Regions from separate parts of the Homo sapiens genome. Here all the other regions are linked to region 1. Evidence: promoter capture Hi-C in 16 types of primary human blood cells and fetal thymus (Javierre and others, 2016). All regions are on one chromosome and are shown on one strand. The core of a region is centred on a gene start or on the middle of the fragment in contact, and the rest is flanking DNA. Distances in the headings are between cores, read along the strand shown.

Evidence for each region. Contacts are between HindIII fragments. The CHiCAGO score rates a contact against its expected background, and 5 or more counts as called.
Region 2: a fragment that was not itself captured here is called in contact with the fragment with the promoter of ZFR in region 1 in 1 of 17 cell types (total CD8 T cells); the score reaches 5.0 in total CD8 T cells.
Region 3: a contact is called between a fragment that was not itself captured here and the fragment with the promoter of ZFR in region 1, in 3 of 17 cell types (activated CD4 T cells, total CD8 T cells and total B cells). The highest score is 6.3, in activated CD4 T cells.
Region 4: a fragment that was not itself captured here is called in contact with the fragment with the promoter of ZFR in region 1 in 1 of 17 cell types (activated CD4 T cells); the score reaches 5.3 in activated CD4 T cells.

The regions. Positions count from the first base shown.
Region 1 is chr5:32,441,294-32,447,378 of GRCh38, forward strand. It overlaps ZFR (zinc finger RNA binding protein), which reads right to left and starts at 3,447. Exons shown (of 20, transcript NM_016107.5): 1 at 3,329-3,447; 2 at 2,936-3,035. The coding sequence starts at 3,365. RefSeq lists silencers at 2,490-2,829, 3,060-3,749 and an enhancer at 2,541-3,098. The HindIII fragment of the contact is 7,512 bases long and covers 1-5,376 here.
Region 2 is chr5:32,344,565-32,350,649 of GRCh38, forward strand. No RefSeq gene overlaps it. Among named protein-coding and RNA genes, the nearest start is that of MTMR12, 35 kb to the left of the region's middle. The HindIII fragment of the contact is 436 bases long and covers 2,661-3,096 here.
Region 3 is chr5:32,363,547-32,369,631 of GRCh38, forward strand. ZFR (zinc finger RNA binding protein) reads right to left here. Exons shown (of 20, transcript NM_016107.5): 18 at 618-729; 19 at 402-499. Among named protein-coding and RNA genes, the nearest start is that of MIR579, 28 kb to the right of the region's middle. The HindIII fragment of the contact is 427 bases long and covers 2,416-2,842 here.
Region 4 is chr5:32,518,129-32,524,213 of GRCh38, forward strand. The region is part of intron 2 of LOC124900954 (a long non-coding RNA gene); the gene reads left to right. It also overlaps the pseudogene TMEM183AP2. Among named protein-coding and RNA genes, the nearest start is that of SUB1, 64 kb to the right of the region's middle. The HindIII fragment of the contact is 4,229 bases long and covers 272-4,500 here.

The sequences.
Region 1 (6,085 bases), core at 2,197-4,696:
GTGTAGGATGTTTACTTTATCTGTATTCAATGATAGGTGAAGCAATTCAATCACATCATTCACACATAAATACAGTCATCCCTCCATATAAGCAGGGGATTGGTTCCAGGACCGCTACGTATACAAAAATCCATACATAAAGTCCCACAGTAGGCCCTGTGGAACCTGCGAATACAAAAAGTTGGCCCTCCATGAATACTCTATTTTCTATCCAAATTTGATTGGAAAAAAAAAAAAACTGCATATGTTTTCAGGCGTGAACTGTACTTAAGATTTTCCTGAGTTTGAGATCTTCAAATTTGAAAAAATATTAGTAAAGTAGACCTTGGTCTTCCATCTCTAAAAGTTCCATTATAATTATTTCCAGCCAGGAAGAAAAATTAGCATCACCACCACACTTTTTGCATGTGCTTTTGTTATTAATGTTATTCATTCATCTTCCTTGCCAAAATTCCCAGTATTATTGGGCCTGATTTCTTGCCATTAAATGCAAACACTTTTCATGTACTATGTTTATATACAAGGCCTTATGTACAAGAGTGCCTAAGTTTTAGCAATATAAGTAATGTCAAAAGACTAGTCTTTTCTCATCAGATGTACACTTAATCAATTTAGTAACCTGGATTGTTGTTACAGTTTAAACTTTTCAGTTTCAAGGCCAAAAAAAAAATTATTAGAAACAGAAATTCTGTCACAGTTCCCTATACTGGGATAAAACAATCACATAAATATTTTATCAAAAAATTATTAATTATCTTTAAATCAGCATTTCCTTTCTTCATTTCTATCTGTAGGTCTGCATTTAGGAAAAACATTTCAGAAGTGCCACAAAGAACCCACCACTTTACAGTAAATAAAGTTAGTAATTCAACAAATCTTATCACTCAGCCCATATGAGGAAAACAGAAAAAACCTGAGTAAAACAAGTAAAATTTTAATGGTTAAACACAATCTTTTCTAGACGGAATACTAGTAATTGCCAGCAGATTTATGGCACAGATGCTGATTAGCTATCTCTTCTGAGAAAAAGATGGTTTTTTCCTCTCCTTGAAAATTATTAGCCCTACTAAAATCTCAGAATTCACTATATAATTAGTCCACGTAACCAAAAACCACTTGTACCCCAAAAAGCTGTTGAATTTTTTAAAAGTCCTAAAAAGTTTTATCAAAGTAGCTGAAACTTTTTTTGTCTAATTATCAAAAATTATAAGCAAACGATTTGCTAATACTTGAAATGCCCCCAAGATTTTGCTGTAATAATTTGTCATCTCAGTGCTTTTTCTGGAATGCAGGCCTCATGAAAAAACACTTGTAAAATGCCACATGGCATTCAACAATTAGTAAAATCTAGTTTCACCAATATGATGCACATTTATACATTTTGACATCTCTTAATGGAGTCTTAAGCAGTGTCTTAACTGGCAGCATTTTTTTTTAGTGCTACATACAATAATGGTACCTTTTACAACAAATGGCATCTTAGGATGCCATGGAAAACAGTAACTTGGTTTCTCAAAACCACAAGTTTCAGCCCAAAAAGATAGTTTGCCCAGCATCTCATTTTACAGATGATGAACATGAAAACCCAACTATATGATGTTCCCAACGTCATAAAATCAAGAGCAAAAGAGGCCAGGTGTGGTGGCTCATGCCGGTAATCCTAGCACTCTGGGAGGCCGAGGCAGGACTCTGCCCAGGAGTTCGAGATCAGCCTGGGCAACATAGGTCCTTTCTCTCTAAGAAAAATTATTTATTCAAAAAAAAAAAATCAAGAGCAAAAGAGACTGAACTCGGGTCTTCTGGCTCCCAATGATGCCCTTTCCATTAAACACCGTGCCTCCTGAAGTAAATCAAATGAAAAAAACTGCCTGGGTTTAACCAACATCTAACATACATAAAAAGCATATCACGCAGGAGCCGTGTGCGCTTATGGCCTGAATCAAAAGTCTCAGATTGACTCAAAAGTAACAATTTAACAATCCACTGTTGTGTTTGTCTTTGGTAAGATGTATAATGAACTACAGACTTCAGAAATGAGAGCTTCCCTTAAAGCAGGGATTTCATCCGGTGCATTACAATGACTCAGTACAATCTCACTTGCATCTTCTTCCCTCCCCACCATTCCCCGCAGGGGAAAGACCCCCGCAAGGAGAATGACAGGCCCACCTGGGGCCTAAACTCCATAGCTCAAACAAGGCTGGGCACTCATTTATCAGCACTAGAAACTTCGCACATCTTTTCCAGTCTAAGAACTACACAATTTACAGGTGGTTGGTATGTGAATCTCTCTCCTTGCAGGAAAAACTAAAGGAACCCGATGAACACAGTGACACCCGCAGTTTGTCAGCAGGACTCGCTAGCGATGGAGCGTCTGGGGAAGAAGCCCCACGGCGGAGGAAAAGGTACCCGAGACAACGACACGTTATCTGGGCTCCGGGGGTTGAAGCACCAGGCGACGACGCAGAGAGGCGTCGCACGAGAAGCCAGTGGACCTGCGACACGGCACTCCCCGTGAGGTCCCTTCAGCCACCCTCTCCATCCCCCAAGTGGGAAGAAGATGGGAGGTGGGGGCTGGACGCGCGGAGGCGGGGACTGGGGGGCCTGCCGGGCGGCGGTGGCGGCTCCGCTCGGCGGCCGCAGGAGGCCATTTTAGTTAAGGGGCCGCTGAAGGGCCCTGAGGCCTCCACGTCCCTACACCTCCGCCGTCTCTACCTCCCCCCTACTGGGGGCCGCTCCCCGCCGCGGGCCGGGCCGGGCCGGGCAAGGCGGGGCGGGGCGGGGCGGGGCGGGAGAGGCCGCCGGGCTGGGCCGGGCCAGGCCTGCAGCGGGCCGGGGCTCTGGGATGGCTGGGGACGGGCGCGGGGGCGTCGCATCGACAGGATCCGGACCGAGGGGAGAGCAAGGGGCGAACAGAGAGAAGGCAGGATGCCGTTACCTATATTGGGCCGCAGCCGCCGCCGCCGCCGCCCCGCTGTGGGTGAATCCAAAGTAGTTGCCGGTCGCCATTTTGGCATCTTCCCCCAGCCGGCTGGGCACTGCGGCGGGCACGAAGAGTCGGGTCCCATGGCGGGACAAGAGACACAGAGGAGCCGAGACGCCGAGGGAGGGCAGGGAGAGAAAGAGAGAGGCGCCGTGAGAGCAGCCCTGGCGGGGCCCAGGCCGCGGCCGCGCCGCCTCCCCCTCCCGCCTCGCACTCCCTCACTCACTCGCACGCCCGGGTGGCGGCCGCCGCCTCCTCCCCGGAGCCTGCCCCAACCCCCGCGGCTCCCCGCTGCCCGGGGCCAGGGAGGGGGCCGGGCAGAGGCCTCGCGGGCCACATTAGACTCACCATAGGTGAAAGAAACTACAGGGCATATGGGAATCATGGGCTCGGGCTGCTGCTGCTGAACTCTGAACTCTCACCCGCTGCCTCCCTCCTCTGCCCCGCTCCTCCTCAGCGGAGAACAGACCGCCGCCTCCGACCGCACTGCGCAGGCGCGCCTGTGCTCGGCATCCTGGGAGCTGTAGTCCCCGCCGTCTTCGCGGCTCCCCCGGGCGCGTGCCGGGGCCTCGGCGGTGCGGGCGCGGGGAAGCCCGCGGGGGAAGAGGGGCCTGGCCTTCTCCGAAGTGGTGGTGACGCCGCGCGGCCGCGGGGCGACGGGGGCGTGTGCCAGAAGCGCCTCGCCTGTCCTCTGGGGAGTCGGGGAGCGTGACCAGAGAGAGTGACGTCTGTTCGCCTTTTTCTTTGCTTTCCACTGGCTTCCTTAACTTTTGCATGTGCACTTATTCCCTGCCTCCCTGTCTTCCTCGCTCATTAATTTTTCATTGGAATTCGAGCTGGGCAATTTAGGATTTTTCCTTATTTCCTGCTTTCCCGCAGCTTTTCCCCAACCTCTGAAGTGCGGAGGGAGGGAGAAGGAGAGGAGAGAAATAGAAAAAGGATGGAGAGTGCTTTTCTGTTGGACTAAAAGCACACCCTAAACATCCCTCCCGGACATACCTCTTGCTATACCCTTTCCTCGACCTGCACCCACTCCCTGAGCCATCCGGCGTATATCGGTCACCCAGCAGGGTGTCAGGCAGTGTTGTAGGTGCTGGAGATACGGCAGAGAACAAAACAAAGTCCCTGTTCCCGTGGAGTTTACGTTCTAGGAGCGGGTATATGTCAGCCAACAGCCGGTAGCCAAAACACAGAAATTCTGTCTGATGGTGACTGGAGCTTCAAGCATAAATAAAGCAGAGTAAGGAAAATAAGGGTAAGGGAGGTGCTATTTCATGTAGAGTGTGGTTAGGGAGACCACTTGAAGGAAGGAAGGACAGGCCTGGGAGATGCCTGCAGGAAGAGCAGCAAGTGGAAGGGTCCAGATGAAGGAATGAATGTTCAAGAGCAAGAAGATCAGTCTGGCTGGAGTCAAGTGAGAGGGAGACCAGATCACGTGCCAGATCTTTAGTGGTAAGGACAGAACAGTACTTGCCCCCATGTAAGCATTTCCTCTTTCCCTCTGTTTCCTCGCTTTCTTCCCTTTAGTTTCTCAGTTCGTTTTCAACCATTCTCTTTCCTCTTCCAGTCCCTCTTCTGATCGTCTAGTTTCTCTGGCCTTATGTTTCGTGTCTTCCATCAAGTACATATGTACTGCCTGCATTTCACCTCTTCCTTACCTTCTCCATGCCCATCCCCCAGACTCCCTGCTCCTCATCTCTCCTCATTGTTGGATATGAACATTAAAAGGAAATGCTGGCCGGGCGCGGTGGCTCACGCCTGTAATCCCAACACTTTGGGCGGCCGAGGCGGGTGGATCACGAGGTGAGGTCAGTGGCCAACATGGTGAAACCCCGTCTCAAAAAAAAAGAAAAAAAAAAAAAGCCGGGCGTGGTGGCGGGCGCCTGTAGTCCCAGCCACTCAGAAGGCTGAGGCAGGAGAATCGCTTGAACCCTGGAAGCAGAGGTTGCAGTGAGCCGAGATCGCGCCCCTGGACTCCAGCCTGAGCGACAGAGCGAGACTCCGTCTTAAAAAAAAAAAAAAAAAGGAAAGGAAAAAAAAGAAATGCAAAGGGTGAATCAGAACCCACCCATGAAATTCAGGGCTTTGTCCTACTTTCTTGTGCCAGAGCAGAAACAATGCCTCAATTCTTTTTTGTGCCAACCTTGCTCCCCACGCCTCCTACAAAAGTACAGGCTCTCAGAACCTGTCTGATTTGTCCTGTTACTCATTTCAGAAAGAGAAAATGTAGAACCTTGGAGAAAAGTTAAGTGTCATTATTTTTGAGAATACTGATGTTTTCCCAGGCAAAAGTTATTTGTGCCCCAAGGATGTTGCTAGGAAGAAATACCTCCTACACATAGGACATTAGAACTGTATTTTAAAGGTATTTTGCCTTGAACTTCATTGAGCAGTCAAGCTTCAAGACACTGACTGTAACTGCTTTGATGAACCGGCTCTATTAGTTACTAGGCTATTTGAATAAAACTGGAGGAGAAAAGACAGGTGTTGATTACTTGCCTAAAAAGAGTCTGTGTAGGCCAGTTTTATGCTTGTTTGCTTGGCAGGCCTTTGGAGGCCGGCGTGCTACTGGCACACCCCAATGAGCAAGCACATAACTAGAAAGAGGAAGACGGGGCCTCTCCCCTGGTTCTTAGGGGTCAAAGTAGGTGTGGCAGTAGTGAAAATTATTTACAACAGCACTCTCAAAGATGCAGCCTGTAGGAACAACCTTTCAGTATCGCACCTACTTGCCCTTGACTTGGGCTCCTTTAAGGAAGGAGTTTTGGAGGGTCTTGAATATTTTTCCTGGGCATCTAGTAGTGGAGTAACCTGAACATGTTATTTAACCTATCTGAACCCATACGGCAAGAATAACAATAACATCTTCCTGATGGGACTCTGGTGGGGTTTAAATGAGGCAGCATTTATGTAAGACATCTAGTTTTTTTTGTTTTGAGATAGGGTTTCACTCTGTCGCCCAGGCTAAGTGCAGTGTTGTGATCTCAGCTCAATGCAGCCCCAACCTCCTGGGCTCAAGCAATCCTCCCACCTCAGCCTCCTGAGTAGCTGGGACTACAGGCACATGCCACCATGCCCAGCTAATTTTTGTATTTTTTGTAGAGA
Region 2 (6,085 bases), core at 1,629-4,128, 97 kb before region 1:
GCACTTTGGGAGGCCAAGGCAGGTGGATCATTTAAGGCCAGGAGTTTGAGACCAGCCTGGCCAACGTGGTGAAACCTTGTCTCTACTAAAAATACAGAAAATTGGCTGGGCCTGGTGGCTCATGCCTATAATCCTAGCACTTTGGGAGGCTGAGGCGGGGGCAGGTCACGAGGTCAGGAGATTGAGACCAGCCTGGCCAACATGGTGAAACCCCATCTCTACTAAAAATACAAAAATTAGCTGGGCGTAGTGGCGCATGCCTGTAGTCCCAGCTACTTGGGAGGCTAAGGCAGGAGAATTGCTTGAACCTGGGAGGTGGAGGTTGCAGTGAGCTGAGATCGCACTACTGCTTTCCAGCCTGGAGACAGAGCAGGACTCTGTCTCAAAAAAAAAAACAAAAAAATTTAGCTGGGCGTGGTGGCAAGCGCCTGTAATTCCGGCTGCTCAGGAGATTGAGGCGTGAGAATCGCTTGAAGTTGGGAGGTGGAGGTTGCAGTGAGCTGAGATGGTGCCACTGCACTCCAGCCTAGGGACAGAGCAAGACTCTGTCTCGAAAAAAAAAAAAAAAAAAAAAAAGTCAAGCTCAGTGGCTCACACCTGTAATCCCAGCTCTTTGGGTGGCCAAGGCGGGCAGATCATGAGGTCAAAAGATCAAGACCATCCTGGCCAACATGGTGAAACCCGTCTCTACTAAAAATACAAGAATTAGCTGGGCGTGTTGGCACTTGCCTGTAATCCCAGCTACTCAAGAGGCTGAGACAGGAGAATCGCTTGAACCTGGGAGGTGGAAGTTGCAGTAAGCCAAGATCGTGCCATTGCACTCCAGCCTGGTGACAAAGTGAGACTCCGTCTCAAAAAAAAAAGAAACTGGCAAATGAAAAATCTTACAACTACTGGATCTTCTTCTCTCTACCTATTTATATGTGCTGTGTGTGATGTTTATATATGAAAGAGCTGATTAATTGGCTTATAAAATAAGAAGAGCTTAATTCAAATATTTCGTCAGAAAAGTAAAAGGTGCAATGTCTTTTAGTTCATGTGACTTAAGTAATTTTTGGGAAGTAAAAACAGTTTTACATGCAAGGTGTGTAAGAAAAGTGAAATGTGTTTTTGGTAAAATATCTATCTATATCTATCTATCTATCTATCTATCTATCTATCTATCTATCATCTATCTATCTATCATCTATCTATCATCTATCTATCTATATCTATCTATATATATATTTTTTGAGACTGAGTCTCGCTGTGTCAGCCAGGCCCAGGCTGGAGTGCAGTGGCGTGATCTCTGCTCACTGCAAGCTCCGCCTCCCGGGTTCACGCCATTCTCCTGCCTCAGCCTCCCGAGTAGCTGGGACTACAGGTGCCTGCCACCACGCCTGGCTAATTTTTTGTATTTTTAGTAGAGATGGGGTTTCACCGTGTTAGCCAGGATGGTCTTGATCTCCTGACCTCATGATCTGCCTGCTTCAGCCTCCCAAAGTGCTGGGATTATAGGCATGAGCCACTGCACCCACCCCAAGTAAAATATTTTAAGAAGGCATGGGAATGTGGGGTTTTTTTTTTTGCTTAAAGGGTTAAATGATTGTTTCAAGTTAGGATAAATCTGAAGGTTTGTGAAAAATTAATGTTTTTTTTTGTTTTTTGTTTTTTGTTTGTTTGTTTTTTGAGACAGAGTTTCACTCTTGTTGCCCAGGCTGGAGTACAATGGCGTGATCTTGGCTCACCGCAACCTCTGCCTCCCGGGTTCAAGAGATTCTCCTGTCTCAGCCTCCTGAGTAGCTGGGATTACAGGTGCCCACCGCCACGCCCAGCTAATTTTTTTCTATTTTTAGTAAAGACGGGGTTTTGCCATGTTGGCCAAGCTAGTCTCGAACTCCTGACCTCAGTTGATCCGCCTGCCTCGGCCTCCCAAAGTGCTGGGATTACAGGCATGAGCCCCTGCACCCAGCCAAGGTTTTATTAAGAATTGGGTTTAACATTAATAGTACATTAATGCAAAGCTGAAACTGGTTTATTTGGTATAAAAATCATATAGGAAGCATTGCCAAATATGAAATGGTGGCTTTCTTTGCACTATATTTGTATAAATACATTATTGGTATGTGTTCCAAAATTATGGGAAACTCCTATAATTCTGATATGACATAGTGTATGTTATTAATAATTATAATTGTTATGTAAAATTATTGTGTACCATAGAGGTAACCAAAATTCCTAATCCATTGTGGCTTAAATAATGGCTGGTCTAAGAGTTTTTGTCATCCACAGACTATTGTTGTTTTGTTTTAATCCTCTTCAAAAGGTGGTGTATAATTAGCTGTAGGACTTTGACAAGTGCTGTTGAATGCAGGTTCCTGACAACTTTGAAGACTGTTACACTAGAATAGAGGAAAAAACTTTCAGGACTCTCATGGAGAGTTGAAATGTTCATGAATATCAACAGGAGTTAACTTCAAGGACTGAACTAATGGAAGACTGAAGTAATCTTTTTTGACCTTTTGCTTAAAATATTGCTAATCCTTTGTTTTGTTTTTCGGAGTCAAGACAACTTTTCTTTTGAGCTATTTACAGCTTTTAACAATTGAGTAAAGTATATTCCCATGAACAAAATTTGGAGTATATTTGTTTTCTCTCTACCTGATTTATCTTTTCAAAAAAGCTTATTTTTGCAAGCAAATCGGTCTTAGTATGATTTGTCTTTAGTAAAAATGGAAGACTGGAAAGAGAAAAAAATCAGGTTTCAAGAACAATGGTACACCTGTGATTAGATTCTAGTCTCATCAGTATTTTTTAAGTTTTTTTTTATTCTGCAATTTAGACCGACTGCTTATTCCTGTGAACCAACCAGTGATCTTTGGCTACAGCTTAGAAGAAACAAGAGAGATGGATGGGTACTGTGAAAAAAGTCTGGATAAGTATTCTAATTCTAGGCACATATTGGAATCAGCTGGCAACCCTGTATCAGCTTGGTTCCAACAGTTGCCCAGTTCATGGAAAGTCTTCTATTTAGTTTACTTGGGATAATTTTACTTATTTTGCTTTACTGTTGTGGAATATATTGCTGTTGTACTCTTTGTGTAGGAATGCAGGATAAGCTTACTGAATGTTTTCTTAAATTGAACACTTATTAATCTTCTAGATATTACCTTTTGTTGGAACTCAAAGTTATGAATGGCCCTCACCATACTGATGCTTTCTTACTGAGTGCCTCTCTACCACAAATACAAGAGACCCTAATTTGTTAACCAGGAATATCATTGCCCTTACTCACCCTGAAGAAGTTACAGAAGATGGATCTTTGTCCCTCTAGAACTCAGGATTAAGGGTTTTCTTATAAAAGGCAGGGGGAAAATATGTCAGAGGCATTCAAACCAGAGCAACTCCATCTTGAATAGAAGCTGGGTAAAATAAGGCTATGGGCCTATGGGCCTGCATTTTCAGGAGGTTAGGTATTTGTAGTCACAGGAAGAGATAGGAGGTTGGCACAAGATACAGGTAACAAAGACTTTGCTGATAAAACAGCATGCAGTAAAGAAGCTGGCCAAATCCTACCAAAACAAAGATGGTGATGAAAGTGACCTTTGGTCATCCTCACTGCTCATTATACATTAATTATAATGCATTAACGTGCTTAAAGACACTCCTACCAGCACCATGACAGTTTACAAATGCCATGGCAATGTCAGGAAGTTGCCCTACATGGTCTAAAAATGGGAGAAACCCTCAGTTCCAGGAATTGCCCACCCCTTTCCCAGAAAACTCATAAATAATCCACCCTTTGTTTAGCATATAATCAAGAAGTAACAATAAGTATAAGCAGTTGAGCAGCCCAGGCTGCTGCTCTGCCTATGGAGTAGCCATTCTTTATCCCTTTACTTTCCTAATAAACTTGTTTTCACCTTACTCTATGGACTTGCCCTGAATTCTTTCTCATGTGAGATCCAAGAAATTGGGACCCCTTTCCAGTAACAATACAATTAGAAATTTTGTCATCTAGAAATATCTTATTTTCCTTTTAGCTCATCTATGTTTTCTTCTTCTTCAACTCCCAATGCCCTTTCTTCTACCTCTTTCTCTTAGTCCAGAGAGCAGACAGGATGACAGGCAGGCTACTCCAACGTGACTGAGATTTTCAGAAGGTAATGGATTTGGTCTCTCCAATGAAAGGATGGATTTTCTTAAGGCTGTAGCTTGCTTAAATTTCAGGCCTTCTTCCTGATATTTCTTTTGAAAAAAATCAGTGAAGAAAGTGCAAGTGTTTCTCTGTGGCTGTCTGTTACATTAAGTAGAGGAGCATTAAATATCCTAATGTATAGGAAATACCTGATTACAGAATTTAAAAATTTAGAATGGAAAATAACTAGAGATTGTTCCCAAACTTAACAGATACGGTTCCATGTTAAAGTTGGAAGAATACATAGGTAAAATGTCTGGGGTCTGAGATATAATAAAATCAAATGCCAACAGGGCTAGCCTGGTAGACAAATAGGAAATGATGGAGGCTGTGGTAAACTGTTCAGAACAGGTTATGTCTAAAATTTATCTTCTAAAGGGAGTGGCCCCTACTCTCAGCTTTAGCTAATTGTTACCATGTAGAAACACAAGCCCTGTGTCATCAAGTTTTCTCATTTTTCTTTTTCTTTTTTTGAGATGGAGTCTTGCTCTGTTGCCCAGGCTGGAGTGCAGTGGCATGATCTTGGCTCACTGCAACCTCCACCTCCTAGGTTCAAGAGATTCTCTTCCCTCAGCATCCCAAGTAGCTGGGCCTACAGGCATGCACCACCACACTGGCTAAGTTTTGTATTTTCAGTAGAGACAGGGTTTCACCATGTTGGCCAGGCTGTTCTCGAACTCCTGACCTCAGGTGATCTGCCCACTGGGGCCTCCCAAAGTGTTGGCATTACAGGCGTGAGCCACTGTACTCAGCCTGAACTCTTAATCTTCATGTATTTTTAGAGTAATCAGTTCCTACAATCAATTTAATCTTTTCATACTTTTATTCCGTATTTGATTAAATTTTATGAAATTTAATCAATTTCATACTTTTATTCCATAGGTTGCTTCCTTTTTTTAGAAAAAGGCTTTCACATTAGGTTTGTTGCTAAACTGAATAGTCCTTTCCAAACTAAAGACCCAATTTCTTTAATATTAAATAGCATGTCTCACTTGGGATTATATTAGAATGAGGTGAATATATTAGCTTTGTATTTAACATAGAATCAGCTTAATTAATGTTAAAAAATATTTTTCAGGCCAGGCGCGGTGGTTCACACCTGTAATCCCAGCACTTCGGGAGGCCAAGGCCGGCAGATCACTTGAGGTCAGGAAATGGAGAGCAGCTTAGACAACATGGTGAAACTCTGTCTCTACTAAAAATACAAAAATTAGCCAGGTGTGGTGGCACTTGCCTGTAATTCCAGCTACTCGGGAGGCTGAAGCAGAATGGCTTGAACCTGGGAGGTAGAGGTTGCAGGGAGCCATGATTGTGCCACTGCACTCCAGCTTGGGGGACAGAGCAAAACTCTGTCTCAAAAAAAAAAAAAAAAAAAAAAAATTCAGGCTTTAAGTTAGTAATATAACTGTTTCATATTTCCAGATTTTATTTTACACCCAATATTATTACACTAAGCAAGATAAAGGAAGACTAAAATTACCGAGACTACAGGTAATCAATAAAATTCACCGGGGCCTGTTGTGGGGTGGGGGGAGGGGGGAGGGATAGCATTAGGAGATATACCTAATGTTAAATGACGAGTTAATGGGTGCAGCACACCAACATGGCACATGTATATATATGTAACAAACCTGCATGTTGTGCACATGTACCGTAAAACTTGAAGTATCAAAAAAAAATTCCTTAGGGAATGGGGATATTACGATTTGCTTAATATTCCGATTAACATACTGATAACTATATATACACGATTTGGCTGATGACAAAATACACTTAATACTAAATTTAAAATATAGTTTAGTTTTGCATTGTATAGTACATTATGGTCACTGCTATAAAGCATTTATTAAAGCATGATCCACAATTTGTATCAGAACCATGTACATTTTTTGTTTGTTTGTTTTAGAC
Region 3 (6,085 bases), core at 1,379-3,878, 79 kb before region 1:
TATTTGACAGTGGCAGGAAAGGTTAAATTATAACAATAATGACCATAAACACCACAGCAAATTACTTTTGTACAACCAGAGGACATAAGAATTTCTGCTGATCTTGATACATAACCTATTACCCAGATTTAATGAGACACTGAAAATATTGCTGTATTTTTATAATATACAATACACTTACTTAGAAATGCCCATATAATTAAATAATAAAATTTTAAACTCTATTAGTGAAATCTAGTTTTGGGCAAGCTATTTTAATATCCTTTCTAGGGGCTTGCTTACTACAGAAGCAGAAGAACGAATATTATATAGTGACTTATAATATTCCTTAAGACAATAACAGAAAAATAAAACCTTAATGGAGTAACCCAATAGGGCTCTGAATTTAGGAATACCAGTACCTGTGCACTGGATGTGATGTCTTCACGCTGCTGGTCAGTCATTGTTGCCAAGGTATCAAAGGGATCCTTTTCACAAGGATCCAGAAGTCCAGGACTACCTACAGCAATCACCACAGGGAGAGGAAATTATTAGCATTGTCCACTTATAAAAAAAATTATTCAACCAGCAAATGAGTAAACTTCATTTTACTTCATTAAAAACAAAGTAAGAGTTACCTTTAAGAATAATCCCTGAAGAAATGCATTCAAAAACTCTTCTCAGTGCATCCCCAGGGCTCTGAGGGCTAGAAGCACTGCTGATTGCTTTCTCTACTAGTAACTCCATAGCCTAAAAATACAACATAAAAATGTGTTTAACAGCTTACCAAAGGAATTACTCATTTTCAAACTAAAATTTTAAAGACTGAAAAAATTTTAAAGACTGAAAAAGCTACATAGAACAAGTCACAAAAACAGAAAATAAATATTACATATAATATAAAAACATTCAAAATTAAGGAATAGGCCGGGCACAGTGGCTCACGTCTGTAATCCAAACACTTTGGGAGGCAGATTGCCTGAGTTCAGGGGTTAAAGACCAGCCTGGGCAAGATGGCAAAACCCCGTCTCTACAAAAAAAACCCCAAAAAACCAAAAATTAGCTGGATGTGGTGGCACATGCTGGTGGCCCCAGCTACTTGGGGGACTGAGGCGGGAGGATCGCTTGAGCCTGGGATCGTTTACTGGCTGCAGTAAGCTGAGATTGCGCCATTGCACTCTAGCACCCTGAGTGATGGAGTGAGACCATCTTTCTTCACAAACAAAAAAACAAAAAAAACAAAACAAAAACCCAATGCAGGGAGTGGTGTTTTGAAGGGTCTCATGATAAAAATTTGTATTTAGATTTTTAAAAATTGAGATATAATTCACATGTAAGATTCACCCTTTTAAACTGTACAATTCAGTAGTTTTTAGTATATTCACAAAGTTGTTCAATAATCACCATTACCTAATTCCAGAACATTTTCATGATCTCCAAAAGAAACCACATAGCCACTAGTAGTCATTCTCCATTCTCCCTTTCTTTTAGCCCTTGGCAACCCCTAAATCACTTCCAGTTTCTACAGATTTGCCTACTATGGACGTTTTATACAAATGGAATCATGTAATACGTGGCTCTGTGTTTGACTTCTCTCACTTAGCATAATATTTAAGGCTTATCCATGTTGTAGCTTTTACTTAAAAGTTTAAATGAGACTACCAACAGCAATTCAAAGAAACTAGTTTGGAACCACTATGAAATCCTTAAGATGATAATGAAAGCTGAAAAGACATTAGTGAGAATCCATACTTTTGGCTATACACTAAAAAAGCTCATGGACTTATTTATCAGAAGTAAAAACTGCGTCAACCTATTCACTCCAAGGCCATTTCTCAGAATCTCTTTACATTTTAAGAGATGAGAATTTAAAGAAATAGCGCACATTAACAACTATGAAAAATAAATGATAGCTTCCAGCACGATTGGAAAAAACCTGAAAATAATGAATATTAATAGTGATAAATGTAAGTCACAATTAAAAAAATTAAGACAGCTCAGTTTATTCCGTTGAAGAATGCAGGAAGATGTTCAAGATTCTTTTTTATTTTGAGAAAGGGTCTTGTTCTGTCACCCAGGCTAGAATGCAGTGGCATGACCATGGCTCACTGCAGCCTCAAGCTCTTGGGCTCAAGTGATCCTCCCACCTCAGCTCAGGATCACTTGAGCCCAAGAGCTTGAGGTTGCAGTGAGCTGTGGTCGTGCCGCTGTACGACTGGGACAACAGGCGCAGCCACCATGCCTGGCTAATTTTTGTAGAGATGGGGTCTCACTATGCTGTCCAGGCTGGTTTTGAACTCCTGGACTCATGTAAACCAACTGCCTTGGCCTCCCAAAGCCTTGGGATTACAGGCATCACAGCAACAGCCCCTCAAGACATTTTTCATTTTTTACGGATTTTCATTTTAAAGTTAAGTTTTAATATTTTAAGGGACAAGCTTCAGTCATCTAGAAAACTCTATGTGTATGTATGGAATATGCATGTGTATGGAATATTTTAAGATGCGAAAAGACTTGAGACCCTTGAGGATAAGGTCAGTGTTACTCATCTTGAACCCACTTGCCTAGTACAAGTAGCCAGAATTTTGTAAATACTTAGTAAATGATGACATGGAATGATTTTGGAAAGAATGTGAGAATAATCCTGACAATTCAGTGATAAAATAAACCAAGAGTAATAATTAGCAAAATATTGATGTTGTGATTAAAACACAAAATTGAAGTCATAAAATACGTAACTTTCGATAAATGCCTCAAATTTTTACTGAGTACTTTTAGCAAATGTTATGAGAAAAGTGAGCATTAAGTAATCAGCTACAGTTCAGGTACGTCAAGACATAAAAATGTGTTTCAAGTAACTCAAAGCTTTTTCAAAATCTGTTTATTGATTGGCTTTAAGAATCAGGCATTTCTGATTTATACCAGCAGGTAAAAGCAGAAATTAATTAAAAGTCAAGAAAGAAATCAATTATTTATGGAACACAAAAAAGTCAATACACTTAAACACACACAATAAAACTAATCAACTACCTCTGACACCATTTACTGTGAACTAAGCAATTAAAACATATTAATTTTCTAAAGAACATAGCTATTCTCCAAGCACATGTCTACAGTTAAAAGAGCAATGAAAATAGAAGAATATAATTCAAAAGTAAAAAGATAATATCAAAAATAAATAGAATCAAATTAAGGATTACAACACTTCAGGTTTTGATGTAAAGGGTCTTGGAGGCTATAATTATATAAGAGAATAACTTATTAAGAATTATTATAACTGGAGATGGAAAAAGCTCCCCATATTAAATGATTAAAAAAATCAAGGATTGTAATATTTGCTTTAAAAGATTTTTTAATTTTTTTTTTTTTTTTTACAGACAGGCCCTCGCTATGTTGCCAGGATGGAGTGCAGTAGTTATTCGCAGGCACGATCATAGCACACTGCAGCCGAGCTTGAACTCCTGGGCTCAAGTAATCATACCTCAGTTTCCCCAGTAGCTGAGACTACAAGTGAATGCCACTGCACTCCACTGTAATATTTGCTTTTTATTTATTTTTTGAGAGACAGGGTCTTGCTCTGTTTCCTAGACTGGAAAGCAGTGGTGTGATTATAACTGACTGTAGCAGGCTGGGTGTGGTGGTTCACGTCTGTAATCCCAGCACTTTGGGAGGTCAAGGTGGGTGGATCACCTGACGTGAGGAGTTTGAGACCAGCCTGCCCAACATGGCGAAATCCTGTCTCTACCAAAAACACAAAAAATTAGCCGGGTGTGGTGGCAGGTGCCTGTAATCTCAGCTACTCAGGAGGCTGAGGCAGGAGAATCACTTGAACCTGGGAGGCGGAGGTTGCGGTGAGCTGAGATCACGCCACTGCACTCCAGCCTGGGCGACAAGAGTGAAACTCCATCTCAAAAATAATAAATAAATAAATAAATAAAGTAAATAAATAAATAAATAAATAAATAACTCACTGTAGCCTTGACCTCCCAGGCTCAAGTGATTGACCTCAGCCTCCTGAGTAGCTGGCACTACAGAACCCACTACCATGCTTGGCTAATTTTTATTTTTAGTAGAGATGAGGTCTTGCTATGTTGCCTGAGCTGGTCTTGAACTCCTGGGCTCAAGTGATCTTTCCATCTTCGTGTCCCAAAGTGATGAGATTACAGGCCAAAGTGATGAGATTACAGGCGTGAGCCACTGGACCCAGCCTTATTTGCTTTTTAAAAACACTCATGAAGTGTATTTTTTCCCATCCCATCTCCAGTTATAATAAGAGTAACTCTTAGTAAGTGGCAGGCACCATGCTAAATGATCACTTATATGCATAATTTAATTCAAGATGGAAAAAAAATCCCATAAATTTAAGAAGCTAAAAATAGTTTTGTCCAAGGTCATGTAGCTAGGTGATAAAGCTGAGATTTGAACCCAGGTCTTTCTGAAATCAAAATAATGCTTTTTTTTTTCTTCTTTCCCTTATGTTTTCTTTCCTACTATGTTTCAATAAGTATCTTTCATCAATGGGTGATCCAGAGAGAAAACATTAACTAGTTTCCATGAATATTAGTTTCTAGCTCTGGTAGAGACAAAGACCTATGTAAAACAAATAAAACAAAGCCACCTGATGAGATTTCAGTAACACAGGCACTTTCACTGGTGGGAGTGTAAACCAGTAAAATCTTCCTTTAAAGCACAAATGGCAAACTGCATCAAAACTTTTTTCCCCCCCCAACAAGAGACGGAGTTTCACTCTTGTTGTCCAGGCTGCAATGGCGTGATCTCAGCTCACCGCAACCTCCACCTCCCAGGTTCAAGCGGTTCTCTTGCCTCCGCCTCCCAAGTAGCTGGGATTATGGGCATGAGCCACCACGCCCAGCTAATTTTGTATTTTTAGTAGAGATGGGAGTTTCTCCATATCGGTCAGGCTGGTCTTGAACTCTTGACCTCAGGTAATCTGCCCATCTCAGCCTCCCAAAGTGCTAAGATTACAGGTGTGAGCCATTGCACCTGGCCACAAATTTTTAAAAGACACACATTAATTAGCCCAGCAATGGCAGTACTAAGATTTACAATAGGGCTATTACTACATAAGAAAAGCACAAAAAATATTCTGCCCAGCTCTTAATTTGTAACAGACTGGAAACAATCTCTAGCACTAGGAGTTCTGGCTAAATAACAGTAGTAGCAGTTATCCTCTTCATTATAGCTACCACTTACTGAGTGCTTATCCTCGCTAAGTGATGCTCTAAGTCTTCACATATATTAACCAATTCTAACCATTATAATCACATTCTGAAGGTAGATATGACTATCATTCCCATTTTACAAATTAAGATGTTTATGCTCTTAAAATAGGATTTTATGAATACCACAACAATGGGCAATTGTACATACAAAAGCCACTTACATAGTCCAGTTGACATGGATCACTATTGACACATGCACAACAGACTTTGATTTGTAAGCCCATTTGCAGGTTGTTGCATTTTTGTAATATATTTACTCACAGCACTTTATTTTATATGGTGAAATGTATGAAAGTCTTAATAAAAATGGTCATGTCTTGCAGGGAAAAGATTTACTTACAGCTTTTAGTGATTTAGGGGTGTGCATACAGTTAAATAGATGATTTTTGTTAAGGGGTATCTAAATGTTGAGTTAGTTCATGTACCGTTTGCTGTTTTTTTTGTAAGCTGAGACTGTTTGTTCTTTGCCCTGAGATGTCAGTGTCCTATCATTTTAGAACTCTTTGTTGGTTCTATCAGCAACAGCCGGGAGAACTTTTAGTACAAACCACCACCACTAAAATCTGTATTACTTACAAATACCTCTGAAAGCCAGTAAAATACGTGAAAAGAAATGTTAACGTATTTCAACTGTTATTTGGGCAGGAAGAATAATTATAGCAGTTTTCTTCACCTTTCTTTGAGAATGATTCCTTTACATTTGATATATCATTCTTTAAAACAAAACAAAACAAAACAAAACAAAACAAAAAACTGGTCAGGAATGGTGGCTCACGCCTATAATCCCAGCACTTCTGGAGGCCAAGTTGGGAGGATCCCTTGGATCCAGGAGTTTCAGACCAGGCTGGGCAAGATAGTGAGAC
Region 4 (6,085 bases), core at 1,136-3,635, 76 kb after region 1:
CCTGTCTCTACAAAAATTAAAAAATTAGCTGAGCATGGTGGGGCGAGCCTGTGGTCCCAGCTACTCAGGAGGCTGAGGTGGGAAGATTGCTTGAGCCCGGGAGGTTGAGGCTGCTGAGTCAAGATCGTACCACTGCACTCCAGTCCGGGTGACAGGGAGCAAGACCCTGTCTAAAAAAAAAAAAAAAAAAAAAAAAAAAAAAGATTGGAGAGAAAGAATTTCTTTGGAGAGAGTGGTTAATGTGCCATGCTTACAAGAGAACTATCTAAAAAGCTTGACAAAGGTCCCCTGTCCTAGCCTACTACAGTTTGAAAAATCCCAGGGCAAAACCACAGTTGGTGATGCCTTTCAGCTGGCTTTAAAAAGGAGGCTAGGATCCAGAATATATAAATAACTCTAACAATTCAACAACCAAAGCACAAAATACGCAGTTTAAAAATAGGCAAAAGGGGATAACCAAAGCAATCCTAGACAAAAAGAACAAAGCTAGAGGCATCACACTACCCAAATTCAAACTATAAGGCTACAGAAGTTAAAATAGCATGGCACTGGCACAAAAACAGGTGCATAGACCAATGGATAGAGAACCCAGAAATAAAGCCACACATCTACAACCATATGATCTCCGACAAAGTTGACAATAACAAGCAATGTGGAAGGAACTCCCTATTCAATAAATGGTGCTGGGATAACTGACTAGCCATTTGCAGAAGAATCAAACTGGATTCCTGCCTTTCACCATATACAAAAATTAACACACGATGGATTGAAGTCTTAAATGTAAGACCTAAAACTTTACAAATTCTAGAAGAAAACCTAGGAAATACTATTCTGGACATTGGCCTTGGCAAAAAGTTTATAATGAAGTGCCCAAAAGCAATTGCAACAAAAAAATTGACAAGTGGAGCCTAATTAAAATAAAGAATTTCTGCATAGCAAAACAAACAAACAAACAAACAAAAACTATCAACAGACTAAACAGCCAACCTACAGAATGGGAGAAAATATTTGCAAACTATGCATCCAACAAAGGTCTGATATCCAGAATCTATAAGGAACTTAATTCAACAAGCAAAAAACAAGCAACCTCATTAAAAAATGGTCAAAGGACATGAACAGACCCTTCTCAAAATATGATATACATGCAGCCAACAAATATATGAAAAAATGCTCAACATCACTAATCATTAAAGAAATACAAATCAAAACCACAATTAGATACCATCTCACATCACTCAGAATGGCTATTAAAAAGTCAAAAAATGACAGATGTTGCCAAGGTTGTATAGAAAAGGGAATGCTTATACACTGTTGCTGGGAATGTAAATTAGTTCAGTCCCCATGGAAAAGGGTTTGGAGATTTCTCAACTTAAAACAGGACTACCATTCAACTTGGCAATCCTATTACTGGGTATATACCCAAAGGAAAGTAAGTCATTCTACCAAAAAGGCATGTGCACTCATAAGTTTATCACAGCACTTTCACCATAGCAAAGACAAGGAATCGACCTAGGTGCCAATGAATGGTGGACTAGATAAAGAAAATGTGGTACATATACACCACGGAATACTACACAGCCATAAAAAAGAATGAAATCACATCCTTTGCAGTAACATGGATGCAGGTGGAGGCCATTATCTTAAGTGAATTAATGCAGGAACAGAAAACCAAACACCACATGTTCTAACTTATAAGTGGGCGCTAAATATTGAGCACACAAATACATAAGAAGGGAACAATGACACTGGGGACAGAGTGAGATCTTGTCTCAAAATTAATTTATTTTTATTTTTTTTTTGAGACAAGATTTCACTCTGTCACCCAGGTTGGAGTACAGTGGCACAATCACAGCTCAATGCAGCCTCAATTTCCAGGGCGCAAGTGATCCTCCCAACTCAGCCTCCTGAGTAGCTGGGATTACAGGCATGTGCCACCACACCTGGCTAAATAAAAAAAAAAAAATTTTTTTTTTGCAGAGTTGGAGTCTCACTAAGTTGCCCTGGCTGTTCTCAAATTCTTGGACAAAAGCGATCCTCCTTCCCTGGCCTCCCAAATTGCTGGGATCATAGGCATGAGCTGCCTTGACCACTGACACTGGAGGCTACTAGAAAAGGGAGGATGGAAGAAGGGCGAGGGTTGAAAAACTGCCTATGCTCACTACCTGGGTGATGGAATCATTTGTACACCAAACCTCAGTGACACACAATTTACCCATGTAACAAACCTGGACGTGTACCCCCTGATCAAAAATAGAAGTTGAAAAAAAATGGGCAAAGGATTTGAATAGACTTTCTCTAAAGAAGATACACAAGCGACTAATAAGTACATGAACAGCTGCTCAACATCATCCGGTAGTTTAGGAAAATGGAAATCAAAGCCTCAGTGAAATACTGTTTCATGCTTGCTAGATGGGTAAAATAACAAAGAGACAAAATAGGAAGCACTGGCCAGGATATGGAGAAATCAGAAACCCTCATACATTGCTGATGGGATTGTAAAACGGTGCAGCCACTTTGGAAAACAGTTTGGCAGTTCCTCAAAAATTTAAACATAGAGTCACCTTATGACCAGGCAATTGTGCTCCTATGTATATGCCCAAGAGAAATGAAAACATATGTCCATACGAAAACTTGCACATGAATGCTTATAGAAGCATTATTCATAATAGCCAACAAATGGAAACAACCCAAATGTCCATCAATAAACAAACATAAATAAACAAAATGTGGTATCTCCAAACAATGGAATATTTTCAGTCATAAAAAGGAATGATATACTGATTCATGCTACAGTGTGGATGAACCTTGAAAACATAATGCTAAGTTAAAGAAGGCAGACACAAAAGACCACATCTTGTACAGTTGCACTTATGTGAAATGTCCAGAATAAGAAAATTCATAGCAACAGGAAGTAGATTGGGGGTTTCCAGAGGTTAGAAGAAGGAGGGAATGCAGAATGATTGCTAATGGGTCAGGGGTTTCTTTTTGGAGTGATGAAAATATTTGAAATTAGAGAGAGGGGATGGTTACGCAACCTTGTGAATATGTTAACACCCATGGAATGTGCTTCAGTGGCGAATTTTATGATACGTGCATTAAATGTCAATAAAGTTGTCATTGAAAAAAAAAAGGTTGCGAGGCTGCCTTAGAAGCAGCTGCACTCCCCAAGCAGTGGGTCTAAGGTGCTTATTTTCTGGGACCAGAGGTGAAAACTGATGTATGAATTCTGACCTGGCATCATTTAAAAAGAGATTTTGCCTGGCACTGTGGGGTGTGACTATAGTCCTGGCTACTTGGGAGGCTGAGGCGGGAGGATTACTTGAGCCCAGGAGTTGGAGGCTGCAGCGAGCTATGATCACACCTATGAATAGCCACTGCACTCCAACTTAGGCAACATAGCAAGACCCTGTCTTTAAAAAAGAGAAAAAGAGATCTTGCCCAAGAGGACTGCCTGAGAGTACGATGGGACACAACAGAGAGACAGTCCGTGTGGAGACGGCCACCCCATGCTAAGGTTGCCAAGGGTGATGAATGACAAACCAAAGCAGAGGCCATTCCCCAACTCCAAGTGAAGAGGAGCAGTCAGACAGCTTCCTGGCCAGCCCATCGGAGTAACCAGGAGAGAAGCATCAGCTCAAATCATTTAACATGTTCAGAGAAACTCCAAGCCTGGAGGGTCAGAAGTCCCAGAAAGTGCGGGCTGTGGAGGAGAGGCTCCCAGAGGAAAAAGAGAAGCAGACAATCACCCTCTCCTTGACTGCATGCTTCTGCCTTGAGCAGGCCACGCTGAGGCAAGTTGACATAAAGTCAAGAGTTCCGATGATTATACTGCATGAGACATATTAATTTATAACATTAGTTTTTCTTGTGGCTGAAAGCAATCAGAATATTTTCTTTCTTATCTTTTTTTTTTGAGATGGAGTTTTGCTCTTGTTGCCCAGGCTGGAGTGCAATGGCGCGATCTCGGCTCACTGCAACCTCCACCTCCCAGGCTCAGATGATTTTCCTGCCCCAGCCTCCCGACTAGCTGGGATTACAGGTACGAGCCACCATGCCTGGCTAATTTTTGTATTTTTAGTAGAGACGGGGTTTCACCATCTTGGCCAGGCTGGTCCTGAACTCCTGGCCTTAAGTGATCTGCCTGCCCTGACCTCCCAAAGTGCTGGGATTATAGGAGTGAGCCACCACGCCTGGCCGCGATCGGAATATTTTTTAACTCTTAGAATTAATGAAAAACTATGGGGTTTGCCCAGGTTTCATACATACATGGGTAAGAACTAGCACCACAGAACATCCATCCGGTGCCTACTCCTCAACACAGATGTAATCTGAATAAATCACTGCAGAGAGCGGTAAGTCCTATGATGAAACAATAGTTCAGATGAGAGATGAAGATGTGAAATCAAGTATATGAGGAAAAGGGGAAAACTTAGGTTTAAAAATCGACGAATTTGGCCAGGCATAGTGGCTCATGGGAGCCTGAGGCGGGAGGATTGCTTAAGCTTAGGAGTTTGAGGCCAGCCTGGGCACAGGGCAAAACCCCGTCTCTACAAAAAATACAAAAAATAGCCAGTTGTGGGAGAGTTAGCGGCCTCCGGTGTGGGAAGGCCACGGAGCCGGGCCGGAGACATGGCCCGGGGGCCCGGCCAGCTAGGCAGGCCTCGCCCCGATACGGTCGCCATGCCCAAGAGAGGAAAGCGACTCAAGTTCTGGGCCCACGACGCCTGCTCTGGACAAGTGACTGAGGTGGATTACGCCAACTCGGATCCAGCGGTCGTGAGGTCTGGATGAGTCAAGAAAGCCTTAGCCAACGCTGTTCAGCAGGAAGTAAAATCTCTTTGTGGCTTGGAAGCCTCTCAGGTTCCTGCAGAGGAAGCTCTTTCTGGGGCTGGTGAGCCCTGTGACATCATCGACAGCGGTGATGAGACGATGCCCAGGAGGAAAGCATCTGTGAGAGAACTGTCTCCAGAAAAAAGAAAAGCAAGAGGCACAAAGAAGAACTGGACGGGGCTGGAGGAGAAGAGTATCCCATGGATATTTGGCTATTGCTGGCCTCCTATATCTGTCCTGAGGACATTGTGAATTTTTCCCTGATTTGTAAGAATGCTCGGACTGTCACTTGCACTGCTGCCTTTTGGACAAGGTTGTACCGAAGGCACTACACGCTGGATGCTTCCCTGCCTTTGCGTCTGCGACCAGAGTCAATGGAGAAGCTGCGCTGTCTCCGGGCTTGTGTGATCCGATCTCTGTACCATATATGTATGAGCCATTTGCTGCTCCAATCTCCAAGAATCCAAGCACCCCCAGCACATTAAAGAATTCCAAATGCTTACTTTTCTGGTGCAGAAATATTGTTGGGAACAGACAGGAACCAATGTGGAAATTCAACTTCAAGTTAAAAAAACAGGTTAAAGAGCAAGTGTACAGGAGGATTGCAGCCCCCTGTTCAGTACGAAGATGTTCATACCAATCCACACCGGGACTGCTGCCTACTGCAGGCCACCACCCTCAATTTCATCTTCATTCCGATTGTCATGAGAATGATATTTACTCTCTTTACTATCAATGTGAGCAAGGACATACGGCATCATTGAGTGAGACTGGTGTTTCAAGATTCCCCTGTCCATGGTGGTCGGAAACTGTGCAGTGAACAGGGTGTGCAAGTCATCCTGGACCCAGTGCACAGCTTTCGGCTCTTTGACTGATGGCACCCTCAGTACCCATTCTCCCTGAGAGCGTAGTTACTGCTTCCCATCCCTTGGGGGCAGCCCCGATTCTAGTCCATTAGTAATCAGATTCCAGTTTGGACAGGGCGGCTGGATTATATATCTGGTTAGTAATGTACATGCTCTTCAGGTTCTAGGGCTCCTGTTAGGGGAGGGAGAAATGTTGAATCAAGAGGGAAAACAACTACTATGATTTATAAACATATTTTAATGTAAAAATTTGCATTAAAAAAATAGCCAGTTGTGGTGTCGTGTGCCTGTAGTCCCAGCTATTTGGGAGGCTGAGGTGGGAGGATTGTTTGAGTCTGGGAGGACCAGGCTGCAGTGAGCCGAGATCGCCCCAGTGTACTCTGGCCTAG